7 separate regions of the Homo sapiens genome follow, and all the other regions are linked to region 6. Evidence: promoter capture Hi-C in 16 types of primary human blood cells and fetal thymus (Javierre and others, 2016). All regions are on one chromosome and are shown on one strand. The core of a region is centred on a gene start or on the middle of the fragment in contact, and the rest is flanking DNA. Distances in the headings are between cores, read along the strand shown.

Evidence for each region. Contacts are between HindIII fragments. The CHiCAGO score rates a contact against its expected background, and 5 or more counts as called.
Region 1: a fragment that was not itself captured here is called in contact with the fragment with the promoter of TBX2 in region 6 in 4 of 17 cell types (M0 macrophages, megakaryocytes, endothelial precursors and 1 more); the score reaches 9.9 in M0 macrophages.
Region 2: a contact is called between a fragment that was not itself captured here and the fragment with the promoter of TBX2 in region 6, in 1 of 17 cell types (megakaryocytes). The highest score is 5.8, in megakaryocytes.
Region 3: a contact is called between a fragment that was not itself captured here and the fragment with the promoter of TBX2 in region 6, in 11 of 17 cell types (megakaryocytes, M0 macrophages, M2 macrophages and 8 more). The highest score is 16.2, in megakaryocytes.
Region 4: a contact is called between a fragment that was not itself captured here and the fragment with the promoter of TBX2 in region 6, in 1 of 17 cell types (M1 macrophages). The highest score is 6.3, in M1 macrophages.
Region 5: the fragment with the promoter of BCAS3 here is called in contact with the fragment with the promoter of TBX2 in region 6 in 7 of 17 cell types (total B cells, activated CD4 T cells, total CD4 T cells and 4 more); the score reaches 9.8 in total B cells.
Region 7: a contact is called between a fragment that was not itself captured here and the fragment with the promoter of TBX2 in region 6, in 2 of 17 cell types (naive CD4 T cells and naive CD8 T cells). The highest score is 6.9, in naive CD4 T cells.

What each region holds. Positions count from the first base shown.
Region 1 is chr17:60,703,683-60,706,779 of GRCh38, forward strand. All of the region lies in intron 4 of BCAS3 (BCAS3 microtubule associated cell migration factor), which reads left to right. Among named protein-coding and RNA genes, the nearest start is that of BCAS3, 27 kb to the left of the region's middle. The HindIII fragment of the contact is 617 bases long and covers 1,457-2,073 here.
Region 2 is chr17:60,807,189-60,810,234 of GRCh38, forward strand. It overlaps BCAS3 (BCAS3 microtubule associated cell migration factor), which reads left to right. Exons shown (of 24, transcript NM_017679.5): 7 at 816-888. It also overlaps the pseudogene KRT18P61. Among named protein-coding and RNA genes, the nearest start is that of BCAS3, 130 kb to the left of the region's middle. The HindIII fragment of the contact is 1,423 bases long and covers 785-2,207 here.
Region 3 is chr17:60,742,220-60,745,250 of GRCh38, forward strand. The region is part of intron 5 of BCAS3 (BCAS3 microtubule associated cell migration factor); the gene reads left to right. Among named protein-coding and RNA genes, the nearest start is that of BCAS3, 66 kb to the left of the region's middle. The HindIII fragment of the contact is 2,747 bases long and covers 1-2,638 here.
Region 4 is chr17:60,779,568-60,782,901 of GRCh38, forward strand. The region is part of intron 6 of BCAS3 (BCAS3 microtubule associated cell migration factor); the gene reads left to right. Among named protein-coding and RNA genes, the nearest start is that of BCAS3, 100 kb to the left of the region's middle. The HindIII fragment of the contact is 1,270 bases long and covers 1,042-2,311 here.
Region 5 is chr17:60,676,340-60,679,388 of GRCh38, forward strand. BCAS3 (BCAS3 microtubule associated cell migration factor) reads left to right here and starts at 1,512. Exons shown (of 24, transcript NM_017679.5): 1 at 1,512-1,575. RefSeq lists a silencer at 892-1,645 and enhancers at 1,064-1,233, 1,404-1,553. The HindIII fragment of the contact is 12,302 bases long and covers 1-3,049 here.
Region 6 is chr17:61,397,995-61,401,489 of GRCh38, forward strand. It overlaps TBX2 (T-box transcription factor 2), which reads left to right and starts at 1,849. Exons shown (of 7, transcript NM_005994.4): 1 at 1,849-2,577. The coding sequence starts at 2,183. It overlaps TBX2-AS1 (TBX2 antisense RNA 1), which reads right to left and starts at 1,612. Exons shown (of 2, transcript NR_125751.1): 1 at 1,245-1,612. RefSeq lists promoters at 806-2,066, 1,686-1,933 and a cis regulatory region at 1,922-1,933. The HindIII fragment of the contact is 11,976 bases long and covers 1-3,495 here.
Region 7 is chr17:62,064,465-62,067,786 of GRCh38, forward strand. It overlaps MED13 (mediator complex subunit 13), which reads right to left and starts at 814. Exons shown (of 30, transcript NM_005121.3): 1 at 676-814. The coding sequence starts at 741. RefSeq lists enhancers at 205-304, 1,215-1,474 and silencers at 455-734, 1,525-1,604. The HindIII fragment of the contact is 415 bases long and covers 1,590-2,004 here.

The DNA of each region.
Region 1 (3,097 bases), core at 515-3,014, 690 kb before region 6:
GGCGGGTGGATCACGAGGTCAGGAGATCGAGACCATCCTGGCTAACATGGTGAAACCCCGTTTCTACTAAAAATACAAAAAATTAGCCGGGCGCGGTGGTGGGCGCCTGTAGTCCCAGCTACTCGGGAGGCTGAGGCAGGAGAATGGCGTGAACCCGAGAGGCGGAGCTTGTAGTGAGCCGAGATCATGCCGCTGCACTCCAGCCGCCTGGGCAACGAAGACAGACACCGTCTCAAAAAAAAAAAAGAAAAAAAGAAAAAAAAAAGAAAGACTTACTATAGACTCTAATATGATTTGAGAAAAAGCGAAGTCATTATATGACAACTTAAAGCAAAAGGAAGGTGAAAAATCTAAAACTGGAGAATTTAATGCCAGAAAAGGGTGGTTTGATAATTGTAGAAAGAAGTTTGGTTTAAAAAATGTCAAGATAAAAAGAAGCAACTTCTGCCGACCAAGAGGCAGCAGGGGAGTTCCCAGATACCATTAAGAAAATCATTGAGGAGAAAGGTTATCTGCCTGAACGAGTTTTTTAATGCTGAGAGAAGTGCCCTATTCTGGGAAAAAAATGCCACAAAAGACATTTATTAGTAAGGAAGAGAAGTGCACACCCGGAATTAACGCCAGGAAGGGATAGACTAACTCTATTGTTTTGTGCAAATACAGTCAAGTTTATAATCAGGACTGTCCTTATCTATAATGCTGCTAACCCCTGAGCCTTGGAGGGAAAAGATAAACAGCAGCTGCTAGTCTTTTCATTGTATAACAAGAAGACCTAGACAGTGGGAACCCTTTTTCTGGATTGACTCCATTGATGCTTGTTCCCAAAGTCAGGAAGTACCTGGCCAGTAAGAGACTGCCTTTTAAAGTTTTTTTTGAGGCTGGGTGCAGTGCTTCACGCCTGTAATCCCAGCACTTTGGGGGGCCGAGGTGGGTGGATCACTTGAGGTCAGGAGTTCGAGACCAGCCTGGCCAACATGGTGATACCCCATCTCTACTAGTACAAAAATTAGCCGGGCATGGTGGTGCGTGCCTATAATCCCAGCTACTCAGGAGGCTGAGGCAGGAGAATCGCTTGGACCAGGGAGGCAGAGGTTACAGTTAGCTGAGATTGTGCCACTGCACTCCAGCCTGGGAGACAGAGTGAGACTCAGTCTCAAAAAAAAAAAAAAGTTTTATTGATATTGCACAGTGCCCATGGCCACCAGAAATGTCATGAATTCAACCCCAAAAGTATGGAAGTGGTCTACTTGCCCCCAGACACGGTGTCTCTATCTTGTTGTTGGGCCTCTAGATCAAAGGGCCACATGGACCTTTTAAGGCTCACCACACATGATACTCTATGGAAAGGATTGTCAACTCTGTGAAAGAGAACCCTGATAGAACATCAGGAAAGTGTGGAAGGATCACACCATTGAAGGTGCCATCAATGTTACAGAAATAACCATGAAAGTCAGCAAGCTTGAAACAATAAATTCCTGCTGGGGAAAACTGTCCAAATGTTTTGCATGACTTACAGGATTTACGATAGATACCATCAAGAAAGTCATGAAAGAGGGCCGGGCATGGTGGCTCATCCCTGTAATCCCAGCACTTTGGGAGACCCAGGACGGCAGATCACCTTAGGTCAGGAGTTCGAGACCAGCCTGGCCAACATGGCGAAACCCTGTCTCTACTAAAAATACAAAAATTATCCAGATGTGGTGGCGCCTGTAATCCCAGCTACTTGGGAGGCTGAGGCATGAGAATCGCTTGAGCCTGGGAGGCGGAGTTTCAGTGAGCTGAGATCATGCCACTGTATTCCAGCTTGGGTGACAGAGTGAGACTTGTCTCAAAAAAAAAAAAAAAAAAGAAAAGAAAATCATGAAAGAAGTTGTAGATATGGCAAAAAAGATGAGATGTGAAGCATTTCAAGATATCTGTTTTGGAGAAATTCAAGAACTAAGACACCACACCAGAGAAGTTAAGAGAAGACAGCTTGATGGAGCTCAGTGCTTCCAAACCAGTGCCAGATGATGAGGAAGAAGATGTAGAGGAAACAGTGCCAGAAGACTGATGTTAGACAGTCTGCCAGAAAGCTTCCAATTATTTAAGACTGCTTTTGGCTTCTTTTAGACATAGATCTTTCTATAATACTGGCACTGAAATGAAAGCAAATGATGGAAGAAGGATTGGTACTGTATAGAAACATTTTTAGAGAAATTTGCAAAAATGTCAGAGAGGAAGTACAGTATATTTCCATAAAGTTATACTGAGTGTGCCTGCCTCTATTGCCCTCCCTTCCACCTCCTCCATCTCCTCTGCCTCTGTTACCCCTGAGGGAGATGACCGACCCCTCCTGTTCTTCCTCTTCCTCAGCCTACTCACTGTGAAGACAAGGATGAAGACTTTTTTTTTATGGAGATGGAGTTTCGCTGTTGTTGCCCAGGCTGGAGTGCAGTGGTGTGATCTCGGCTCACTGTAACCTCCACCTCTTGGGTTCAAGCAATTCTTCTGCTTCAGCCTCCCGAGTAGCTGGGATTACAGGCACCCACCACCACGCCCGGCTAATTTTTTGTATTTTTAGTAGAGATGGGGTTTCACCATGCTGGCCAGGCTGGTCTGGAACTCCTGAACTCAGGTGATCTACCCTCCTCAGCCTCCTAAAGTGCTGGGATTACAGGCCTGAGCTACCGCACCCAGCAGGATGCAGACTTTTTTTGATGATCCACTTCCATTAATGGATATTTTCTCTTCTGTATATTCGAAGAATACAGTATATAAAACATATACAAAATATATGTTAATTGACTTTATTTTAACAGTAAGCCTTCTGGCCAGCAGTAAGCTATTAGCAGTTAAGTTTTTGGGTGAGTCAAAAGTTATACATGGTGGCTCATGCCTTTATTCCCTCCCAGCAATTTGGAAGGCCGAGGCGGATGGATCTCTTGAGGCCAGGCACTCAAGACCAGCTGGGACAACATGACAAAACCCCATCTCTACTAAATATACAAAAATTAGCCAGGCGTGGTGGAGACTACAGTGAGCTGAGATTGTGCCACTGTATTCCAGCCTGGACAACAGAGCAAGACTCTGTCTCAAAAAACAAAACAAAACAAAA
Region 2 (3,046 bases), core at 246-2,745, 590 kb before region 6:
TATACTGCCAAACTATTACTGTTGCTTAGGTAAATCTAATTCAGTTATGAGAGTTTATTTTTTTCATATATGTTGCTATTTAATTTGCTGATATTTTGTTTAGGATTTTTGCAACTATGTATATCAATGGGAATGACCTATAGTTTTATAATTTTCTTGTCTTGAACTACCTTTATTTAGTTTCGACATCAATATTATTACTAGTTTTAGGTAATTAGTTGGTGGGGTATGGGATGGTTTTCTGATCTCATGGGGAAGGTGTATAAGATTGAAATTGGTGCCAATTGAAACTTAAAAAAAATGCCAGTTCAGGCTGGCCATTGTGGCTCTCGCCTGTAATCCCAGCACTTTGGGAGGTTGAGGCGGGTGGATCACTTGAGGTCAGGAGTGTGAGACCAGGCTGACCAACATGGCGAAACCCTGTCTCTACTAAAAATACAAAAATTAGCCGGGCATGGTGGTACGTGCCTGTAGTCCCAGCTACTCAGAAGGCTGAGGCAGGAGAATTGTTTGAACCCGGGAGGCAGAGGTTGCAGTGAGCTGCGATCGTGCCACTGCACTCCAGCCTGGGTGACAGAGCGAGACTCTGTCTCAAAAAAAAAAAAAAAATGCTGGTTCAGTTTTTAAAATGATTACATATATATAATATATGATGATTTTATATAGTAGCTTTTCTTCTTTTTATTCAATTGTATAAATTATGTCAACTTATAATGAATACTTCTCCTTTTCAAGTATTTTGAAAGCATGAAAATAGTGGGAATTATACAATAATATTCCTCAAAGCTTACAATTTATTTTATCCTTCCTGTCAGGTGCTCAAAAATGTGATAACTTTGCTGAAAAAAGACCCCTCCTTGGTGTTTGTAAGAGCATTGGATCTTCTGGGTAAGGAAATTTTAAAAATTCTTTGTATCACCTATTACAAATTTATATTATTCCAGAGGGAGAACTTTGATGTTATAAAACCTTTGTAACCATAAGACTAAGCTCTCATAAGAGAGAAGAAGAAGAAAGTAAAACATATTTAGGGTTTCCAACAGTAAATGACATTTATTGATGCTATAGCATGTGCCTGACACTGTTCTAAAGGTGTTGTGTGAATTTTCTTTTTTATTTATTACCACAATACTGTGAACAAATACAAATATCTTTCCAGTTAGTGCATTCCCTCAAATTGAACTTCTGGCTGCAAGGAAAGCTAGGAATGATTATGGTTTTGTTAGTAAGGAAAATTATCAAAATGGATATTAGGTTGGCTACTAGCAGTCTTGGCCTCATGCTTTCAGTAAATAGTGTGCACTTCAGATCATGTGGCATTGGAGAAAGGAAGAACATGTTAATAATATAACATGGTTAGGTCATGGAGTCTTGATTATTGTTTCCTAATGGTACTGTTTGACTTCATAGGCTACAAGACAAATTTCTTCAAGTGTAAATTTTTCGATTGAAGAAGACATAAAGCCTTTGAGAATTTACTGTATACTCAGCACTTTGCCGGGTGTAGGATAAGGATACAAAATCATGAAAGCCTAATTTCTTTCCCCAGAGACTTATGAATGTGGCTGAAAAGAAAAAGTACAACACATGCAAAATAATTATGAAATAATGATGTATGACAGGAATGCAGAGAAGGGAGAGATCAGTGTGCATGAATTAATGAGAAAAAGCCTCATGGAGAAGGAGCAGCATAGGTTAGATCTTAAGGAATGGGAAATATTGCAGCAGATGAGAAGGACTGCCAGGGTAGGTTATAATATAGTAGTGGAAGAGAAACTGAAATAAATACATTTAAGAATGGTAAGAGTTTGTGGGCCAGGCATGGTGACTCACGCCTGTAATCCCAGCACTTTGGGAGGCTGAGGCAGGCAGATCACTTGAGGTCAGGAGATTGAGACCAGCCTTGCCAACAAGGTGAAACCCTGTCTCTACTAAAAATACAAAAATTAGCCCAGTGTGGTGGCATGTGCCTATAACCCCAACTACCCGGAAGGCTGAGGCACGAGAATTGCTTGAACCTGGGAGGCAGAGGTTGCAGTGCACCACTGTACTCCAGCCTGGGCAACAGTGAGACTCTGTCTCAAAAAAAAAAAAAAAAAGAGAGAGTTTGTGACTTAGATTTAATGCCATCTGCAAAACAGATGAAAACAACTATTGCAGTACTCTGAAACTCAACCAAAAGCATATAATAATCTGAAAAGTGTTTAAGCTTGAGAAACTGCTAATCTTTGCACAATAACAGTGGGAATCTGTGGCATTCATGCCTGCAGCTGCTCCTGTCCCACTCCACACTTTCCCTCTTCCAGGGTTGGTTGGTTGGTTGGTTGGTTATAGAGTGTCTTCCAGGGTGAGAAAGGTTTTGAGGACTAGTACCTTACCTGCTGTGCTTGGAAAATTTTCGCTCATCTCTGAGTGGCAGGTATTGCATATGCCTGCCAGCATTATCTGCAGAAATTACTGTCTTGATGACATGTGTGCTTTGAGAGCCATTGGCTCTTTCAGCCTAAGATAATGGTTAGCTGAGGCTTCATGCATATGCAGAGGAGCCATGAAAAAGGGTCCAGGGGGAAGAAAAATCTGAATAGATGTGCAGATCCTTTGGCAAAGGAAAACAACTTTTGTTGACCTGGGGTATTTGAGTGAATCCTCTGTTGAGTAGTTGGCTGCCCACTAAGATACATAGATGCATGGCCAGACCCTGAAAGTCAGGCTTTAAAGTAATGCAAGAATAAAAGAAATAATAAAACTGAACAGAGAAATCAGCAACTGCAAATTGTGGAAGAAGACAGATTTCATAGAATCCAGAGTAATGTTATACTGTATTATATAAAATGTCTATTTTTAAATATAAAATTATGACACATGCCAAGAAACAGGAAGTTGTGGCAGTGAGAAAAAGGCAGACAATAGAAATCATACCTGACTGGTCTTCAGAAAAGCCTGAGTCCTGTCCTCTCACTCTCCCCACTGGACAGCATGAGCTTCACCACTTGCTCCACGTTCTCCACCAAACTACCAGTCTCTGGGCTCTGTGCAGGTGCCCAGC
Region 3 (3,031 bases), core at 15-2,514, 660 kb before region 6:
TGCACAAGAATCAATTGCATTACTATCAGTTTTTGACAGCTCAGAGTATTGTACAGTAGCCCAGTCAAAGACAAAGTGTGGATCCCCTATAGAATCAGATAACCCCAAAGGGTCTGCTAGAGAGCTCTTGGTAATCCATAGAAAAAACACAGAACACAAAGTAATCTATTCAGCATTTCAAAATCTTTCACAATTTTCCTTGACATCTTTTTTTTTTTTTTTTTTTTTTTTGAGACTGAGTCTTGCTCTGTTGCCTAGGCTGGAGTGCAATGGTGCAATCTCAGCTCACTGCAACTTCCGCCTCCTGGGTTCAAGCAATCTTCCCACCTCAGCCTCCCGAGTAGCTGGGACTACAGGTGTGTGCCACCATGCCCGGCTAATTTTTGTATTTTTGGTAGAGACAGCTTTTCACCATGTTGGCCAGGCTGGTCTCGAACTCATGACCTCAAGTGTTCCACCCACCTTGGCCTCCCAAAGTGTTGGGATTATAAGGCATGAGCTACTGTGCCTGGCCTCCTTGACATCTTAAGAGCTAAAAACTAGAAGTAAAAAAGTAAAAACAACTCAGAGGTCCATGAACAGTAGTACAATGGATAAAATTGTAATATTTTCGGCCAGGCACGGTGGCTCACGCCTGTAATCCCAGCACTTTGGGAGGCCGAGGTGGGCAGATCATGAGGTCAGGAGATTGAGACCATCCTGGCTAACACAGTGAAACCCCGTCTCTACTAAAAATACAAAAAATTAGCCGGGCATGGTGGCACGTGCCTGTAGTCCCAGCTACTTGGGAGGCTGAGGCAGGAGAATGGCGTGAACCCAGGAGGTGGAGCTTGCAGTGAGCCAAGATCGCGCCACTGCACTCCAGCCTGGGTGACAGAGCGAGACTCCTTCTCAAAAAAAAAAAAAAAAAATTTGTAATATTTTCATACAATGGAAATCTATATAGCAATACATATAAAACTACAATTCCATGCAACAACATGAATTAATTTCATAAGCATAGTAATGTGTGAAAGAAGCCATTCCCAAGGGTACATATTGTGGGAACCCATTTACATTAAGATGAACAAGTAGAACTTAAAGTAATAGAAATCAGGATTGTAGTTATGGCCACTCTTGAGTTGGGATTATGACTGAAAAGAGATGTAGCAGGACCTTCTGAGTATCCATAATATTCTGTTTCTTGATGTCTTTTGGTTCAGAGGTACGTTAACATTTAAAATTCATGTTATACATATACTTAGGATGTATGTATTTTTTCTGTGTTTGTTACCTCTTGATAAAGTTTGCTAAAAAAAAAAAAAATCATTTGTGGACCACAAACATCCATTTAACCAGTATCTATAGGGGAAAGTGGGGTTGTGAATGTGTACTCTTGTCCTAATAATGCAGCATTATAAAGCAGTATTTTTATTGTCTTTTGGTATTTGAATTTTCTATATTATAATTGGTCTATGAAAAGTCATCAGAAGTTTAGAAATAAGTTTGATTCTGAGGGCAAGATAACCTTCATTTGCTTTCAGAATTCTCTAAAAGCACTTCTACAGCTCTCCCAGAACTTGTGTAGCCTTTTCTGTGTGTATATTATTGTCTTAGCTGTTGTAATTTCCTTTTGCCTTAGATCGAGTTGTGAGATTCTAAACTTGTACTACCCCCACCCCTTTTTTGGTTTGGTATGTAATTTGCATATTTTCACCATGCGAAAGCTATTTTCTATGGTTGGAAAAGATTTTTTTTCCTACAGTGTGAACAAATCATTCTTTGTTCTCCTTATTGTGCCTCCAAACTGGTACGTCCGGTTTATGCCCCAAACAACAAAAGTCTGTCATCAGAAATTAAAATGCCAGTAAGAACAAAGGCAGAGACCATGAGGAGCTGTTGGAGAGGCTTTCTCCCTGTTCGCTCTTCTCCCCAAGTTACCACAGTTGCCAGGAAGTTGGAATACTGCTTGGACTCTCTTTCCTTGTAGTTCTACTCTTGTATTTATTGCTATTGTTGGTTTAAAAGTGAACTTACAGTTTAGTATACTTCTTTTCAGGATCTAGAAAATCCTTATCTCTGCCATTTTTAATGAGCTCTTTTCTTAAAACCTAAAAAATCACTCTTGACAGCCTTATAAAAAATCAGTTTTGGCACTTATTTGAAGGCAAAATTATCAGTGGACATAATGTATAAAATTATTATTCAGAAAGATAGCTAAAGCAGAATCTGTAAAGACTAACCATCCTCTGTGTGTCCTTTCTAAAACGTATGGATCATATCTGTATAAACCTTAACTCTGTTTCTGTTCTGAAATGGTACTCTAATGTAGAATTCCCACAGACTATTTGGAGAGTTCTCTCCTCGAGGAAGTTTGACATTTTGTGACTCACATAGGATAGTTTAGAATTATGCTTCTAATTTCAGTAGGTTGTACAATCCTGATTTTAATATATTCAGAAATATCTATAAATGTGACACAATGTTTCCTCTGCTCCCCCCAACCCCCACCCCCGAGTTATAATTAAACACAGATCCTAGGACCATAGAGGTAATGAAGAATGGACAGTGAATGTGGGGATGCATTTTAAAATCAGTCCAAATGTTTTTTTCCTCCCCTCACCCATTGCCTTATGTGTAAGGAGGGATTTAAGATACAAGCTTAGAATAGGGCATTTAGGTTTGTTTTGAAAGCTGTTTTGCTGAAAAGTGTTGTATATTCAGGTTTCAAAATGTTTTTTGATGTCAGAATAAGCTCTTGTGTATTAAATACAATGATAGCAAACTTTTATATTGTGAGTATGCTAAGACAGATTTGTTTTATTCTTTTTTTTTGAATAATTGAGTACAGCAGCTCATTTAAATATGGTTACACTTCTTTAACATAAAGGTTTTATTTGATAGGACCAAAAGCTAAATACTAGAACTGGCATATGCAAATAATAGTACAGAGTGGTGGATTTTGTTTTAGAATACTATAATTTATTATAAGTGTAAAGTGAGAAGTATTTTTCATTACTTGAAATATAATTTCAATGTAAGTTCTATGGTA
Region 4 (3,334 bases), core at 427-2,926, 620 kb before region 6:
CATGTTGGTCAGGCTGGTCTCGAACTCCTGACCTCAGGTGATCCACCCGCCTTGGCCTCCCAAAGTACTGGGATTACAGGCGTGAGCCATCGCGCCCGGCAGAATTTCATGTTTAGACTTGGTTCCTATCAAGATAGCTTATTATGTATATGTAAATATTCCAAAAGCCAAAGAAGTCTGAAACCTGAAATGCTCCTGTTCCCAAGCATGTCAGATAAGGGGTACTCAACCTATACCATTCTCTGAGTTTTTCTAAATCATGCAAGAATGGTATGATTCTGTTTGAGAAATATTCTTGGTGCTATTTGATATATAGACCTTTGAAAAACAGGAGATAAGGCTCTGATATGATCACTGGAGCTTGGTGTCTATTGCAATATTTTTGGGAAAATATTCAAATATCTAAAAAACTTTACTATTTTTAATTTTTTTTTTTTTTTGAGATGGAGTCTCGCTCTGTTGCCTAGGCTGGAGTGCAGTGGCGCCATCTCGGCTCACTGCAAGCTCCGCCTCCTGGATTCAAGCGATTCTTCTGCCTCGGCTCCCCCGAGTAGCTGGGACTACAGGCACGTGCCACCACACCCAGCTAATTTTTGTATTTTTAGTAGAGACAGGTTTCACTATATTGGCCAAGCTGGTCTCAAACTCCTGACCTTGTGATCTGCCCACCTCGGCCTGCCAAAGTGCTTGGATTACAGGCGTGAGCCACCATGCCCTGCCTATTTTTTTTTTTTTTTTTAATTTTTTGAGACAGTGTCACCCTGTTGCCCAGACTGGGGTGCGGTGGAGCGATCTCGTGATCTTGTCTTACTGCAAACTCCACCTCCTGGGTTCAAGCGATTCTCCTGCCTCAGCCTCCCCAGTAGCTTGGATTATAGGCACCCGCCACCATGCCTGGCTAATTTATCTATTTTTAATAGAGACGGGGTTTCACTATGTTGGCCAGGCTGATCTTGGACTGCTGACCTCAAGTGATCCACCTGCCTTAGCCCCCCAAAGTGCTGGGATTACAGGCATGAGCCACCACACCCAACCCTAAAAAGCTTTTTTGTCATGTTAGTACTTTAGGTAACTTGTCGTACACAGAGATTTATTGGTGTAAAAGATAGACCTCTTGATACGAATTTTTGATAATTTGTTTGGAAAATAGTTGTATCTAAGCTGTGTTGCAGAGCTTCCTATTATAAATTATATCACAGCTTTCTTCCTTCTAATTTCCAGGCTGAGGTCCTTTTTATCCTTCTTTGAGTTATGGCTAACATAGCCTTACATTTTTTGACATATTTTCCTAAGTTAATTGTAGAATATCTGTAGATATTTTGTTAGATGTACATACAGATATTTAAATTTTGACGCTTTAAAGTAATTTGCCACCATGGTTCTGTTTTATTTTTTGTCTTTTTTGCCATCTTTTTTTTTGAGATGGAGTCTCACTCTGTCCCCCAGGCTGGAGTGCAGTGGCACCATCTCGGCTCACTGCAGCCTCCAACTACTGGGTTCAAGCGATTCTTGTGCCCCAGCCTCTGGAGTAGGTTGGGGTTACAGGTGCGTGCCACCATGCCTGGCTAATTTTTGTATTTTTAGTAGAGATGGGGTCTCACCATGTTGGCTAGGCTGGTCTCGAACTCCTGACCTCAAGTGATCCCCCCGCCTCAGCCTCCCAAAGTACTGGGATTACAGGTGTGAGCCGCTACGCCCAGCTTTTTTTTCCTTTTTTTTTTGCCATCTTTCTCAAAGAAAGAATTTTCCAGCTGGCCATGGTGGTTCACACCTGTAATCCCAGCACTTACAGAGGACAAGGTAGAAGGATCACTTGAGATTAGGAGTTTGAGACCAGCCTGGCCAACGTGGTGAAACTGCATCTCTACTAAAAATACAAAAATTAGCCAGGCATGTTGGTGCATGCCTGTAGTCTCTATTACTCGGGAGGCTGAGGCACGAGAATCTCTTGAAGTCAGGAGGCAGAGGTTTCAGTGAGCTATGATTGTGCCACTGTACTCCAGCCTGGATGACAGAGTGAGACCTTTTCTTTCTTCTCCTTCTTGTTTTTCTTCTTCATCCTAGACTGCCTTATACTTACTCAGATCACATTTCTTCTTATTGTTTTTGTCTTATTTCCATGTTTTTTCCTCTACCCCTTAAAACAAATTTTAAAAGACATTTTTATAAAAATGAATTTTACAATTATGTGTATTTCTTTACCTATTTTTCATAATTCCATTTTTTCCTACGTTAGTTAATAACAGTTGCTATGTGCTTCTAGACCTATTTCTAGGTGTGAATTTCATTTTATTCTGCTGGAGACTTACCAAGCTTTCTGGTTCTTTCTTTTATAATTCTGGAAAATTCTCTGTCATTTATCTCTTTGAATATCATGTTTTAAATTCTTCCTGTCTTCTGTCATTGTCCTCACCATCCTCCACCTAGAAATTCAGCACACCAGATGAACAACTGAGCTAGAAATCAGATTAACTTTCACAAAAGCAAAAGAAACCTATACCTGCTACATAGCCATTTTACCTTGAAGACTGAAAATTAAGGATGACCACATATGAGGAGTCCAGTTATTACTGAGGAGATATGACTTTAAAAACTACTTTTGTTTATCTGTTGCATTCTTTCAAATAGCTTGCAGCACAGTGTGAGACCTAATAATGGTTGCTTAATAATTGCCTGCTGTATTGAGTTTATAAAGATTTTATGTTATTTTACCAACTTTTAAACATCACTTTAAGAATTCCTTCATTTTATCTTAGTTTATGATAACAGCCACTATTTTTTGAGGACTTAGTATGCTTGAGGTAGGTAGCATCTCCAGTTTGCAGATGTGGCAGTTGACCTTCAGAATGTAGATTACAAACCAATTAATTATGAAAGCCAGTTTGGAAATCCATGCCTATCTGATTTAAAATTCCATGCCCTTTCTATTTTCTATGTTACTTCTGTTCAGATCAAATGTTGTGACCAGAAAACATGTTAGTTGGTCTTTATAAGTTATTATTATTATTATTATTATTATTATTATTATTATTATTTTGAGATGGAGTCTTGCTCTGTCGCCAGACTGGAGTGCAGTGGTGTGATCTTGGCTCACTGCAGCCTCTGCCTCTCAGGTTCTAGCAATTCACCTGTCTCAGCCTCCAGAGTAGCTGGGGCTACAGGTACGCACCACCGCACACAGCTAATTTTTTTTTATTTTTAGTAGAGATGGGGCTTCACCATGTTGGCCAGGATGGTCTTGATCTCTTGACCTCAGGTGATCTGCCTGGCTTGGCCTCCCAAAGTGCTGGGAATACAGGCATGAGCCACCGCACCCAGCCAGTCTTTAGAAATT
Region 5 (3,049 bases), core at 262-2,761, 720 kb before region 6:
CAGAGGCTGGAGTGCAGTTGCACGATCTCGGCTCACTGCAACCTTCACATCTCGGATTCAAGCGATTCTCCTGCCTCAGCCTCCTGAGTAGTTGGGATTACAGGCGTGCACCATCAAAACCCGCTGATTTTTGTATTTTTAGTAGAGACAGAGTTTCACAAAGTTGGCAAGGCTGGTCTTGACCTCCTGACCTCAAGTGATCTGCCCCTCTCAGCCTCCCAAAGTGCTGGGATTACAGGTGTGAGCCACCGTGCCCGGCCTTTTCTTTCATTTCTTTTTTTAAAATTTTTTAAAATTTTATGTATGTATGTATGTATGTATGTATGTATGTATGTATGTATGTATCTATCTATCTATCTATCTATCTATCTATCTATCTATCTATCTGTCTTGAGAGGGACTCTCTGTCACCCAGGCTAAAGTGCTGGAGGGCAATGGCGTGATCTATAGGCTCACTGCAATCTCCGCCTCCTGGGTTCAAGCAATTCTTCCGCCTCAGCCTCCCCAGTAGCTAGGATTACAGGCATTGGCCACCACACCTGGCTATTTTTAGTAGAGACGGGGTTTCTTCATGTTGTCCAGGCTGTTCTAGAACTCCTGGCCTCAAGCGATCTTCCCGCCTAGGCTTCCCAAAATGTTGGGATTGCAGGCGTGAGCCACCACGCCCAGCCCACCACGCCTGTTAATAAGCTATACCCTCACGGACCTGTCATTGGCATTAAATTTGATAATACATTAGAGTATTGTATATGAAGTATACGAAGGCCTGTGCTGAGTGTTCAAGAAGTCAGTCAGTATTATTCTACTTATATTAATAAATGAACTGATGAAATGACAATGGCGAGATCTCGATCTTCAACAATAAGGGAGATGGAAACTGAAGCAAGAAGTGGTCTACAAACCTAGCTCAAATTGTTGAGATTACCGGCCGTGCCCCTTATTCAGATCAACCCCTCCTCGGCTGATCGCCGGCGCGAGCCAGCCTAGGCTCCCGGAAGGTAAACACATCGCCAAGGGCTGGGCAGAAGGCGGGTGTGGGACGGGTGAGTGGCCAGCTAAAAGTGATTGGCAGCTGCCATGTCCACGTGCTCCGAGCTTGGAACCAGCTGTCGCGAGAATTCGATGTAAACAGACCAGTCTCCCTGTCCTCCGGCTCCAACCTGAAACGCTCACGTGAGCGGGACAGGAGTCTGGATCATGTTGCTTTTCTTTTCAAAGCCACGAAGGTTCTGTCTTCCAAAAAAAATGTACATGTTCGTAATTATTCCCCAGCTGCCTGCGTTTGCAACCGAACCTGACACCTCGGCTTCACCCGAACTTACATGCTGTTGTGTTTTCCCTCCAGCCCCAGCGGATTGGACACATTCAGAAGGCGGGTCCGCCTCTTTCCTACTTGCTGGTTGGCGAAGCTGACCTCCAAGGGCGGTGCCCGGCCATAGCCGGTTTGCTTCTGGGATTGGCTAGAGGGGGTGGTTCCGCTGAGGCGTGGTAGGAAGTGGCTGCCGTCAATCACTCGGGGAGACTCCAAACAGTGAGCCTAGAGCTGGAGACTAGCGTTAACCGGCGGGGCGGCCGGTGAGAGGGCTGGCAGGGCTTTGGCTTTGGGGAGGCTTGGGGAGGACGAGGGACTGGCGGCGTGAGGGGACTGGGTCGGGCTGGCAGGAATTCGACAGGAGAGAGGTGTCGATACTGGAGGGGGAGGGGAACAGTGCAAGGGGCCGGAGGGCGGCCGGGGGCAGCGGTGGCTCCGTGTTGGAGGTTAAGTGGGCAGCGCCGTACGAGTGTCTTTCAGGAGACTGGGGCCTGAGTGGCTGGCGAGGGTCGTCCCCAGGAGACAGGGCCCTTAAAGGGCAGGGCTTGGGAGACTGTGGTTCGAGAAAGCAAGAATGGGATGAGAATGAGAGGGCTGAGGGGCTGGAGGTGCAGGTATCCTCTGAGGAGGTGGTGGCTCTGCTCCTTGGGGCAGAGGGTGTTTTGGTTGTAGGAGGTGGGGCGCACAGGTTTAGAGTTTTCACATCAGGTGTGAATGCTCCCTACTTAAAAATGGTTTTCGGTGCCTTCAAGATGAGTTCCAGGTTGTGGGCTTCCCTGAGCCCTGTAAGAGATCTTTGATATTGCTGTCAGTCCTCTTTTAACCTTAACCAAGCCGACTCCATGCTCTTAAAATCTCAGTGATTCAGAGGGTCATGAAACATTCTAGGATCAGGATTTACTGATGTGACGGGAAAGGGTAAAGGGCTGTAACAACGTATTAGTTTATGTTAGTTATTTGACTACTTGCTACTAGTCAAATAATTACTTGACTTATTTGTTATAGTAGCAGGGGGTTACGAATGTGATTTAAATTGTGATTTACTCATAGATTCCCAACAGGTTTAATTGGAAGGTAGAGTGATATCATGTCACTTGTTCCGTTTGGTCTTGAAATATTGTACCATGTGTATTTTCACTATCTCAACATAAAATTGCAGTAAATTCCCATCCCATGATCTGGTTCTCTCACCCTTGTAATTTATGTTAACAACAGACCAAGGGGTACAGCAGGAGTCTTCCTTACATTGTTTTGTGGTTCTGAGACCTGGTCCTATTAAAAAACAAAACAGGATGGGCGCGGTGGCTCAAGCCTATAATCCCAGCACTTTGGGAGGCTAAGGCGGATGGATTGCTTGAGCTCAGGAGTTCGAGACCAGCCTTGGCAACATGGTGAAACCCCGTCGCTACAAAAAAATATAAAATTTAGCTCGGCATGGTGGCGCTCGCCTGTAATCCCAGCTACTCAGGAGGCTGAGGCAGGAGAATTGCTTGAGCCTGGGAGGCGGAGATTGCCATGAGCAGAGATCGTGCCACTGAACTCCAGCCTGGGCGACAGAGCGAGACTCTATCTCAAAAATAATAATAACCCCCCAAACCCCTCATTATAATTTGAAAAAAATTAAAAACCTACTTCCTCCTTTTTTCCCTTTCTGGTGTAACAGGAATTTCTGGGAAAGTTTCCTACATTTGAGGCATTTTTGACAAGGGATCTCTAGTGAGTAATCATAAATCTTCC
Region 6 (3,495 bases), core at 599-3,098:
TTATCTGGTCACCTCACCGGCTGCGCAAACGTGTCCACAACGGGTCCCTCCCCGAGAGGCCACATCTCGCCTAAGGTGGAGCCAGCAGGTATTTGCCTGTGGAAAACTGCAGTGGATCCTGCCCCGTCTGCGTAGACTGCGCAGCTCGGAGTCAAAGATTCGTTCTGGCCAGAGAGGAGGTACTAAGAGAGGTGCGACCTAGCCAAGAACGAGGTCGTGGAGAAAACCCTGTGGGGGCGGCGCTCACATATGCGGTGATGAGGAGTTGTGAGGGCCCTGGGGTCGGCCCCGAAAAGTAGGGATAACGGTCGCAGAGGCCATACTGCTTCCGCCGGTCCCGAATCCGCACTGCCAGGAGAGATCCGGCCTTCAAACGCTGCTCCCAACGTTCAACAACGAAGTGCCCTGCGACCGGTGTGCGCAGTGGGCGGGCGCCTGCATGGGTCAATGTTGGATGTACGCGCCCACCACGCGGTTGTACGGGTGGGAATGTCACCCGTGGCTAGTGCATGCTCTGTCTTTTCCTTCAGAAAACGACCTTCAGGAATCAGCCTGAGTGTTCGCGCCCGAGCCCGATTGGAAGCAGGTGCGTGGTCGCTTCACTCTCCCCGTGCACACCTTGAGTTATAGCTCTCGCTGCGCACAGAGGGCACCACACGGGGCCCGACACACACACACACACACACACACACACACACACACACACACACACCATCACTTCATGGGGGGGAAACTGAGGCTGCCGGAAGACAGAAAACGAAGACTGATCACAGAAGAGGGGGCTTCAATCACAGGTGCTCGCAGACACCCCAACTCCCTCACGCGTTACTCAGCACTCCTTAACTTAGGAGACGTGCGCTTCCGAGAGATGAGAAGAAACTAAAAAAGTGGTTGGCAGGGCGAAGAGAGGAAGCCGGTATTTCGGAAGAAGGAGACTTTCGTCTCCGGTACCGGATAGGGCGAAAATTCGTTGGGTCGCGGGTGGAGAATCCGGGGTCCGCCCGCGCGGTGCCGCCCTGTGCTCAGCGAAAGGTGCGCTCACCTTCCTGGCCCCGAGGATCCGCTCCTCCCGGCCGCTGGAAAGCTCAGGGCGGGGCCCGGGCCTGCGGAGAACTCCAGGTTCCTTCCGAGTCTTCCGGTGAAGGCGGGCGCGGGTAGGGGGTCCCCGCGTTTCCCCAGCGCAAGGCCGCGTCCCGCTCCCGCCCGCGCCGGCCCCAGCAGGGCTCGGCCATGGCTCCACTCACCAGCTCCCGCCACCTGGGATCCGCTCCCGGACCTCGGCCGCCCGAGCCTCCCGACTCGCCCGCCCACCGGCCTCGCTTTCCAGTGCCTGCTGTCTCTTTCCGGGGCGCAGGGACCCCCAGGCGGCGCCACGACCCGGAGCTGGGTCGGAGGCCAGGCTGGGGCTCGGGCCAGAGCGGCCGGGCCTCTGGGCGCGGGAGAAGGAGGGCGCCCCCTCTCCGCTCGGGGTCGTGTCAATGCTTTGCACTTGGGGCCGGCGTGCGGCTGCGGGTCCTTCCCCAAGGCCCCGGGACCCGGGCTCCCCTCGCCTCAGGCCCTTTCGGCGGGTCAGGTCGGCCCTCCGCGCTCTCCAGTCCGGCGCAGGCAGCCGCAGGCGCGGGCGGGCGGTGGGGGCCGGGGCAGGAGGAGGGGTCTCGGGGCCCGGCGGCCCGTCATTGGTTAATATTTTATTCTGTTGACATGTTTTCTTACTGCTGAGGCTTCCGACACCTTCTCCCAGGCCCCCCCTCCCGGCCGGAGCTTGGCCTGAGCTGTCAAAACCCCGCCCCCGGAGACCCACAATTGGTCCAAAAAGCGTAAAATCAGCAATCAAGGGGGGCCTGGCTCGTTAGCGCAGGGGATCCGAGCTGGGCAGGACATGTGAGATAGTCACAGTTTTCCAGAGATCACGACAAGATCTAACCAGTCGCGCGTGGTCCCCGGCGCCGGAGCGGGCCAGCTCAGCCCGGCCCAGCCCGGCCCCGCGCAGAGCCCCCGCCGCCCCCGCGCACAGAGCCGGGTGCCCCTTGCGGTGCGCCGGACGGGAAGCCCCGAGGAGCAGCTGCTGCGCCCGCCACCCGGGTCGTCCGTCCACCGCGCGCGCCGCCGCCCGGGCCGGGGGTCCGAGCCGCGCGCCCCCGGCCCCGGCCCCGGCCCCCGGGCGCCTGGGCCGGATGTCCCGATGAGAGAGCCGGCGCTGGCGGCCAGCGCCATGGCTTACCACCCGTTCCACGCGCCACGGCCCGCCGACTTCCCCATGTCCGCCTTTCTGGCGGCGGCGCAGCCCTCCTTCTTCCCGGCACTCGCGCTGCCGCCCGGCGCGCTGGCCAAGCCGCTGCCCGACCCGGGCCTGGCGGGGGCGGCGGCCGCGGCGGCGGCGGCGGCAGCAGCGGCCGAGGCGGGGCTGCACGTCTCGGCACTGGGCCCGCACCCGCCCGCCGCGCATCTGCGCTCCCTCAAGAGCCTGGAGCCCGAGGACGAGGTGGAGGACGACCCCAAGGTGACGCTGGAGGCCAAGGAGCTGTGGGACCAGTTCCACAAGCTAGGCACGGAGATGGTCATCACCAAGTCCGGGAGGTAGGGCTGCCGGCCGGCTGGAAGGCGCGCGGGCGGGCGGGCGGGCTGGGGCACGGGACTGCACGGATCAGAGCAGAGCTGGGGACTCCCGGCTCCCGGCTCCCGGCTCCAGGTTCTGGCCCTGACGCCACGCTTCGCTCCCACGGACAACCAAGTTGACTTTTCTCGTTTGGCACCGGAGCGATTTTTTTTTAAAACAAAAACGCTAAAATCCTCCGAATGAAATAAAACGAAAACATACTGCTAAAGAATAGCCCCAACCGTTCTGAGTCCCAGCGCAGAGGAGGCCCCGCGGCTTGGCCCTGGCGGTCTCCTCCGCCCCGCGCTCTCGCTCTTCTGCGTCCGGGTCCGTCTCCGAGCTCGGGGGAAATTCAGCCTCTCTCAGACTCTGCTCCGACCCCGAAGCCCCTAGTGGGACCTGGGCCCAGCTAACCCCACGCTGGTTGCTCGGTTCCTGGCAGCGAGCCCCGGGTCAGCCGAGCCCTCCGCCTCACCGGGCTGGGAGCCCTTTCTCCACCGCGGGCATCCGAGCCCTGGACGCATCCGCCGCCCCAGGCCTTAAAGCCTGAAGAAAGCCACAGCCCCGGCCCCTCCACCCTTCGACTCAGCCACCGAGAATCCAGGCCTCGGGTTCACCCTCTTCCCCCGAACTGCACGGCCAGGATGTCTTATCAGGCTCTGTAGCCCAGTTCCCAATACAAACACCCTCCAGATTTATTTCTGGGAGCTTCCGTCCCAAGTGGGTATTTCCCCTGAACGAATTTCGGGGAGATTAAGGAGAAGCGAGAATATTTCTAGAGGGCCTAGACTTCTCTCCTGGGCATCAGCTTTCATCTCAGATCAGGGAGAAAGAGGGTCCCCAGATCTGAGCACAAGGCCTAAAGGAGGCTGTTTAGGAGAGGGTCTGACAGGCAGAAA
Region 7 (3,322 bases), core at 547-3,046, 670 kb after region 6:
CACCTCGTCCACTAGCCCCCTTCACTCTCACAAAAACATCATGTTCTAATAAAAGCAAGATGGCTAGAAATTGTCAAAAATGGCAAACTGTTTTCAAAGTTTAAAAAGAAAACATATGAAATGGCACCTACTGGCTTTTACAGAGAGATCTTAAGTCACCCAAGAAAGAAACTAACCTGGCGTTAGTTTGACTCATACAAAAAAAATGTAAAACCAAGACAGGTTTCTAGGGCTTAAGTTCTGGGGTCCTGTTTACATGGGGAAACCAAATTAAAAGGGTAAGACATAAAGGCGGTGGGGAGCAGGGGCAATAATGTAAAGTGTGAAGCAGGGATACAGGGCCAATAAGGAGAAAAGCAACAGTTAAGCAAGACAAGAGGGAAAGGTTACTGTCCTGCCAGATAAGGAGCTCAAGTTGAGGACGAGACTACGGTGAGAAGGAGAGTCCGAAACAAGACGAGAAAAAATGCCAACACTCCCCTAAACAGAGCCCGGGACCGTAGGAGAGCGAACGCCGCCTCCCGGGGCTGGCCGCGGAGCTTCGCAGGGCGCCGGCTCCGGCTGGGCCTCGCCCGGGAACTCGGGCATCTGGACCAGACCCGGCCCCCTCCCCCACGGCCCAAGGGCGCACCTCGCGGCCCCCCTCCCTCGGCGCCCGCCGGCCCCGGCACTCACCAGGCAGAAGAGGTTACAGTGACAATCTTCCAGGCTGGCCCCGTTCGGCACGAAGGAGGCACTCATCGTCCCTCACAGCAGCCGCCGCCGGCGCCACAACCCACCATCCGCCATTACCGCCGCCTCCGACCAGAGAGAGAAACACAGACACCGGGGAGGGCCGGGGGGGGGGTAGTGGTTGGGGGGGCGGTGGAAGAGGAGGCCGCCGGGCGCCCGCCCTCCCCACCCACCCCCCCGCCGCCGCCGCCGCCGCCGCCGCCGCGAGCAGCCCCCGCCGCCCGGCCGGCACCCAGCCGCCCGGGGCCGAGGGCCGGAGGCGGGAGGGCCGCGCCGCGCTCGCCTGGCGGGCCGGACTGCGGATCCCGCAGACGCTCGTCCCTCTCTGGGGGACGGAGGGGATGTGTGCCCCTACCACAAGAAAAATAATAAATTACACAATAAATAATCAAAATCAAGTCCGAGACGGCAGAGCCCAAGCCCAGGACGGTTCTCCCGGGCGGAGAGGCGCCCGCACAGGAGCGGGAAGGGCGAGAACCGGGAGAGAAGCCCAGGCCCCCGGCGCGGCAGCGGCGATGTCCTTAAGCCCAGAGTCTCCTCAGCGGCGGAGGTGGTGGCGGCGTCTGCGGGCTCAGACCATTCTCTGGCTCTGTCTTCGTGTCGTTCCTGGGCCAAGCCGGCCTAAAGTTTGCCCTCCTGTGGCCTCACCGGCTGGACGCCGTAGTCTCCCCCATTTTGTGGGCCCAGCGGGCGGTGTTTTTCCCCCTTTAATCCGAATTCACGGGTTTTCCCTTCGCTTTAATGGCGGCCACAGGGACCAGCTCGCCCTCTCTGCTCACCCATTGGCCGCCTTGAGGTCACGTGGGCCCGGGCTCGGTTGGGAGGGGGAGAGAGAAGTGAGCGAGGGAGGGCCGGGAAGCTTTCGGCGGAGGCGGTGAGCTCGGGGGACGGGGCAGCCAGCTGGTGGCCACTAACATAGCGCCATCTGCTGGGTGCCCCGGCCAGTATAAAACGACCCGGGGCCCTGGCCCTCTCTTTGCGGGGAAATTTACAGTCCAGGAAGGTTCATTTCACAAATCAGTGAGAATTACGTGGAAATCAGTTTGAGTTCTTTGGAAGAGAAAGTATTGGCAAAAATTCCAAGACATTCTCATTTATTTCGCGAGGCCGCTGGGGTGCAGGTGCAAACCTCTGGATTTGGGAGTCAGATGATCTGGATGGGGATAAGACTCCTCAACCTAAAAGTTGTGATATGAAGATATAAATTTAAGAAACAAAATATTGCCCTGTAGTTAATAGACTGGGAATTAGAGCCACACTGCCTGGGTTCCAAGCTTGAGCAAATCACTTCCTGCTCTGTGTCTTTACTCATCTGTAAAATGGGGAAAACATATCCCTTACCCCACAAGCTTATTGTAATGAGTTAATACAAATTAAGCAGGTAGCCCAGTGCCCCGCACAGATAAGCACTGTTAAGAGTTAACTATTATTGTTGTCATCATTACCTCATATAGTTATTGTGACGAGCAGGAGAACTAGTGTATGTAAAGGTCTCACTATTTTTTTGTTGTTTACTTCTGTCTCTCTAGTGCCTAAAAAAAGGTTCCTAGCACACAGTAGGTGCTTGATATTTGTATAGTTACAAATGAATGGGTGGTAAGAAGTAAGAACCAAACAAAAGGTTTATTCTCTTTCCCATAAAACACCCAGTGCTTGGATGGGTTACACTTCAATATGAGTTCAAAACAGTTTCTCTGACGGTTTTAGGATTGCAAGAAAGAAAGAAGAAGAAAAAGATGATTCAGAAGTTAGAAACATCAGTGAGTTAGGACTTACTGTAATTTTATGTATTACAGATACATAATTATGTATTATGTATTACAGATACATAATTGTATCTGTAAAATGAATGGTAGACTCTTCCATGTCACTTCTTCAGCCACGGAATGAAAAGAAGTCCTCATTTATCCACTTGTTCATCTGTGGTGGTGAAGAGCCCAGATCTGAAGCCCAAAGCCTGGAGAAAAAGTTCTGCCCCTCACTAGTTAGTCTTAGATCATATTTGACCTTAGATCAAATTAATTTTGCTTTCTCTCGGTTATTGTAAAATGGGGGTAATAAAAGTACTTTTCTTCTAAAATGACTGGTGAATGAAACAATGTAGATACAGTGCTTGCCACAGTGCTTACTTAATGTTAATTATTAATGTAATTTTAAAAATCATTGAGAACCTGCTGGCTCAATTGAGTGTGTTCCTGCTCTGTGCTAGGCCTAGGATACAAATAGGAATAAGATACCTGCCTGTCCCTCAAGATTCCTGAAGAGAGGCACTAAAGGAAACATTTCCTACAGAATAAGGTAAAATACAATGGGGGTAATTGCTTGAATAAAGTATGTACCTACTATGGCATAGTAAGTGCACTAGAAGAAGAGCATCAAACTTAGAGAAGTTGTCATAAAGTAGGTAGCATTTGAAATCAGATTTGAAGGATAAAATGAATTCTTATAAAGCCCTTTGAAGCAGTTAAATCTTATTAAACCTAATTCGAACCCAAAGTCCACATATCAAAGTCAATTATGCAACCAGGACTAATTCAATCCAGGAGCTCAAATCAACTAAGGTTGGCATCCTTTATAACCGAGTGCCAGC